Linked DNA regions of Homo sapiens: region 1 is linked to region 2. The links are contacts of gene promoters, found by promoter capture Hi-C in human tissues and cell types (Jung and others, 2019). All regions are on one chromosome and are shown on one strand. Each heading gives the region's core, a stretch centred on a gene start or on the middle of the fragment in contact. The rest is flanking DNA. Distances are from core to core; before and after follow the strand shown.

Region 1 (2,700 bases), core at 169-2,668, 370 kb after region 2:
ACTAATTTACATTCCCAAGAGTGCACGAGGGTTCCCATTTCTCCACATCCTCTCCAGCATTTATTATTGCCTGACTTTTGAATAAAAGCCATTTTAACTGGAGTGAGACATCTCATTGTAGTTTTGATTTGCATTTCTTTGATGATCAATGATGTTGAGCACCTTTTCATATACCTGTTTGCAATATGTATATCTTTTTTTGAGAAATGTCTATTCAGATCTTTTGTCCATTTTAAAACAAATTAGTAGATTTTTCCTACAGAGTCGTTTGAGTTCCTAATACATTCTGGCTATTAATCCTTTGTCAGGTGGGTAGTTTGCAAATATTTCCTCCTATTCTTGTCTCTTCACTTTATTGATTGTTTTCTTTGCTGTGTGAAAGCTTTTTAATTTGATGTGATCTCATTTGTTCAGTTTTTTCTTTGGTTGTCATAGTTTGAGGTCTTAGATTTAAGTCTTTAATCCATTTTGATTTGATTTTTGTATATAGTGAGAGATAGGGGTCTAGTTTCATTCTTCTTCCTATGGATGTCTGTTTTTTCCAGTATCATTTATTGAAGAGACTGTCTTTTCCCCACTGTATGTTCTTGGCACCTTTGTCAAAAATGAGTTCACTGTAGATGTATGGATTTATTTCTGGGTTCTCTATTCTGTTCCTCTGGTCATTGCGTCTGTTTTTGTGCCAGTACCATACCATTTTGATTACTGTAGCTCTGTAGTATAATTTAAAGTCAGGTAATGTGATTCCTCCAGTTTCATACTTTTTGCTTAGGATAGCTTTGCCTATTCTAGGTCTTTTGTGGTTCCATATAAATTTTAGGATTGTTTTTACTATTTGTGTGAAGAATGTTATTGGTATTTTGATAGAAATTGTATGAAATCTATAGATTGCTTTGGGTAGTATGGACATTTTAGCAATATTAATTCTTCCAATCCTATGACATGGAATATTTTTCCATTTTTTGTGTGTCCTCTTCAATTTCTTGCATCAATGTTTTATAGTTTTCAATGTAGATATTTTTTACTTCTTTGTTTAAGTTAATTGCTAGGTGTTTTATTTTATTTGTGGCTATTGTAAATGGGATTACTTTCTTGGTTCTTTTTCAGATTGTTTGCTGTTGATATATAGAAATGCTACTGATTTTTATATATTCATTTTGTATCTTGCAAATTTACTGAATTTGCTTATCAGTTTTAGTGGTTTTTTGGTGGCGTCTTTAGGTTTTTCCAAATATAAGATCATGTCATCTTAAAACAAGGAAAATTTGACTTCTTCCTTTCTAATTTGGATGCCCTTTCTTTCTTTCGTTTTTGAGATAGAGTTTCGCTCTGTCACCCAGGCTGGAGTGCAGTGGTGAGGTATAGGCTCACTGGAAACTCTGCCTCCCGGGTACAAGCAATTCTCCTGCCTCAGCCTCCCAAGTAGCTGACATTATAGGCACCTGCCATCACACCTGGCTAATTTTTGTATTTTAAGTAGAGATGAGGTTTCACCATGTTGGCTGGGCTGGTCTCAAACTCCTGACCTCAAGTGATCTGCCTGACTCAACCTCCCAAAGTGCTGGGATTACAGGCATGAGCCACCATGCCTGGCTGGATGCCCTTTATTTTTTTCTCTTGTCTAGTTCCTCTAGCTGGGACTTCCAGTACCGTGTTGAATAACATTGGTGACAGTGGGCATTCTTGTCATGTTCCCAATCTTAGAGGAAAGGGTCTCAGTTTTTCCCCATTCAATATGATACTAGCTGTGGGTCTGTCAAATATAGCTTTTATTATTTTGAGGTATGTTCTTTCTATATCCAGTTTTTTGACGGTTTTTTTTTAATCATGTCAGGATGTTGAATTGTGTCAAATACTTTTTCAGCATCAATTGAAACAATCATATTGTTTTTGTCCTTCATTCTGTTGATATGATGTATCACATTAATTGATTTGCATATGTTGAACCATCCTTGCATCCCTGAGATAAAGCCCACTTGGTCATGATGAATGACCTTTTTTTTATTGTGTTGTTGAATTCGGTTTGCTAGTATTTTGTTGAAAGTTTTTGCCTCAATATTCATCAGTGATATTGGCCTATAGTTTTCTTTTTTAAAATTTGACTTCCTTGCGTTTTGGTATCAGAGTAATACTGGCATTGTAGAATGAGTTTGGAAATATTCCTCTCTCCTTTGTTTTTTAGAACAACTTGAGTAGGATTGGTATTTGTTCTTCTCTAAATGTTTGGTAGACTCCAGCAGCAACACCATTGGGTCCTGGGCTTTTCTTAACTAGAAGACTTTTTATTATGGCCTTGATCTAATTACTTACTATTAGTCTGTTCAGGTTTTGGATTTCTTCATGGTTCAATCTTGGTAGGTTGTGTGTCTCTAGGAATTTATCAATTTCTTCTAGATTTTCCAATTTATTAGCATATGGTTGCTCATAGTAGCCACTAATGATCATTTGAATTTCTGCAGTATCAGTTGTTATGTCTCCTTGTCCTCTCTGATTTTATTTTTTGGGGTCTTCTTTCATTTTTCTTTAGTTGGTCTGGCTAAAGATTTATCAGTCTTTTGTTTTTTAAAGTTTTTATTTGATTGATCTTTTGTATTGTTTATTTATTTTCAAATTCATTTATTTCTGCTCTGATCTTTATTATTTTTTTCTTCTACTAATTTTGGGTTTGGTTTGCTCTTGATTTTCTGGTTCTTTAAGATG
Region 2 (2,700 bases), core at 147-2,646:
GCTGGAAGCAGTCGTTGACTTTGAGGAATTAGATAACATTAGATACTATGAAAGTCCAGTCCATAGAGTCAACCTCACAGAGCCGATGCCTGCACAAGGGCGACCCAGGAGTTTAAATAAGTTGCTGCAAGTATGGTTAGCTACTGTTAAAACTCACCAGAACTGGAACCTAACTCATCCTCCTCTTGGTTGAGCAGATTTCATTTTGACAGGAATTTCTGAATACCCAAAGCAAACTCAAAGTCTGGCCTGGGTTTCTATCTCAGCCCAGGATGCTTCTGAAATACATGAACAGAAGGATTTGGAGATCTTGGGCTGTTTCCCTGGGACTTATGATCTGACATTCTATGGAAATACCCAACTCCCTCCTTGAGCAGGGCCAAATCCCCAAAGATCTCAGACTGAACCCACTTTTTTCAGGGTTGGCCCAAGGCAGAGCTGACACAGCTGTAACATTCTAGAGCACACCCACAACTCTGGATGAACCAGGACAGAATGGGGTGGAAGGATACAAGATAACACATTTGTCCAAGGGGGCCGTCTGTTGACACAGTAATGAACGCAGTAACGACGGGAGCCAGTATTCTACCTCGCATTAGTTGTAAATGAAACGTCTTCAAAACATGAGAATTTTGCGTTATCCTTAATTATTTTTTCATTTTGCAGAAAAATAAAGGGACTCGTCATCGAGTACTTTGAGTCACAAATCAGCCAAGTGTGCATGTGGTTTTTTTCCAAGTACGCACAAGAGTGGAACATTTCGTTTTACGAGTGTGAGATGTTTGAAATACAAATCTGCCAAGAGCTTCCTCCACATTGGTCTGGGACTAGGCAGAACAGGCCCTGACCTCCTGAGAGAGGGAAGGAAGACCAGGCAGGTCTGAGCCAGGTAAACGCCCTTGGGTGAGGTCCGTGAAAGATAAAGTCAGATCTCAAGGACAGAGAGCTTTAAACATGTTTGTGCTCCACTGAGTCGGTTACCTAATAAGTGAGAAAATGAAGATGTGGATGCACAAAAATTCCATGGCCTTTAGGCTCGCGGTGGGGACAGGGTACAGGGAAGCGGCGGTCTGGTGCTGCCAAAGGTTAGTCCCTTGTACCCGGCGAACTCAGGAAAGTTCACTCGATTTCGCTACAAACCTGCAGCACTCGGCCTGGAGGTAACCTGGTTGGGAGCGAATTCAGAACTGGAAATTCCAGGCGGCCCAGAGGGACACCCATCCCTCTCCGAGGCGCGCCGGGATCCGGCGCCCAGCTGCGGGGCGAGGGCAGGGTCCCGCGCAGCACCCCACCCCCGGCCGCTGGCCCCGCCCCCGCCCCCGCCCCGCCTCCCAGGGGATGTGCGAGCAGTCTCCGCCCTCGCGCGGGAGCTGGGAGGCTGCGAGATCCCTACCGCAGTAGCCGCCTCTGCCGCCGCGGAGCTTCCCGAACCTCTTCAGCCGCCCGGAGCCGCTCCCGGAGCCCGGCCGTAGAGGCTGCAATCGCAGCCGGGAGCCCGCAGCCCGCGCCCCGAGCCCGCCGCCGCCCTTCGAGGGCGCCCCAGGCCGCGCCATGGTGAAGGTGACGTTCAACTCCGCTCTGGCCCAGAAGGAGGCCAAGAAGGACGAGCCCAAGAGCGGCGAGGAGGCGCTCATCATCCCCCCCGACGCCGTCGCGGTGGACTGCAAGGTCCGAGCCCGGGGAGGTCGAGGAAGCGGGTGCTGGGCCCGGCCGGGGAGGGCTGCGCGGACTGCAGCGGCAGTGCGCCCCGAGGTGGCGGGCGCGGGGCTCGCGCCGCGGGGACAAGTCCCCGAGAGAGCCCGGCGCTCCCGTTTCCTGTGGGTCCGCAGCTCCTTTGTAAGGAAGTGCGTGTGCTGGAAGCGGTGCCTGACGCGGGGTCGGGGGCTTGGGAGGCCTGGAGAGGGAACGATTGGCTAATTGTGCCGAATTCCCGGTCGTTTGTGCAGTCCGGGGAGCGTGCGTGCAGCCAGGACTTGGCTTGTTCGATCTGGGGACCGGCAGCGACAGGCACAACAACAACAACCGAGTTTGGCACTTCCTTCCCAGTATAAATAATGTACCTAAAATGGCTGACATCATTACAAGCCTAAACCTCTGTTGTTTCCCACTTTCGTTTCTAGGCTTGAACAGCACTTGGACTAAGTCCAGCAACTGTAAGCGTCTTAATTTTAAAAGCGTTTCTTTACCTCCTTTTTCCACGGCCCTTCGGTAGTGGCAGGTGAACTTCACCTGGAGAGGGGACGAAGGGACAGTCCGCCCGAAGTAGGTTTGGGCTGTCTCTTACCATTACTAGTAAAGGCCAGTAATGACTATGTGGATGTTAGTGAAAAACCAATTGTTGGCATTTAAATTGTATCAGCGTCTTTGTGAGGACTCCTGCTGCGTGAAACTAAACATGAGAAATTTGCCCCCGGGTCCCTAATAAAATTCTCCTTTATTTTACAAAATCTCCCTTTAATCCTAGGAAAATTCATGAAGTGGGGCTGTTACTGTGTTGACTTTTAGTAGGTTACGATCATATTTACTTAAATATGAGTGTAATTGTCTCATAAGTTAAAAAAGCCCACAGCCTCTTACCCAGACCCTTTTTAGGCTGCAAAAATTAGAAATTAACTGTAAAGTTATGTTGCTTATCTTATTTTTTGTTGTTGTTAGCATTTTTCAAGACCTATTATCAGTAGGGTAAATTTAGTTTTAACT

What was found. The method cuts DNA at HindIII sites, captures the fragments that hold promoters and counts their contacts. A contact is called where the count stands out against the background at its distance.
Region 1: a fragment that was not itself captured here is called in contact with the fragment with the promoter of ITM2B in region 2 in 1 of the 25 tissues and cell types used here (mesenchymal stem cells).

What each region holds. Positions count from the first base shown.
Region 1 is chr13:48,605,344-48,608,043 of GRCh38, forward strand. No RefSeq gene overlaps it. Among named protein-coding and RNA genes, the nearest start is that of LINC01077, 16 kb to the left of the region's middle. The HindIII fragment of the contact is 7,734 bases long and covers 1-2,700 here.
Region 2 is chr13:48,231,810-48,234,509 of GRCh38, forward strand. ITM2B (integral membrane protein 2B) reads left to right here and starts at 1,397. Exons shown (of 6, transcript NM_021999.5): 1 at 1,397-1,668. The coding sequence starts at 1,552. RefSeq lists silencers at 1,273-1,632, 1,643-1,852 and an enhancer at 1,908-2,605. The HindIII fragment of the contact is 16,899 bases long and covers 1-2,700 here.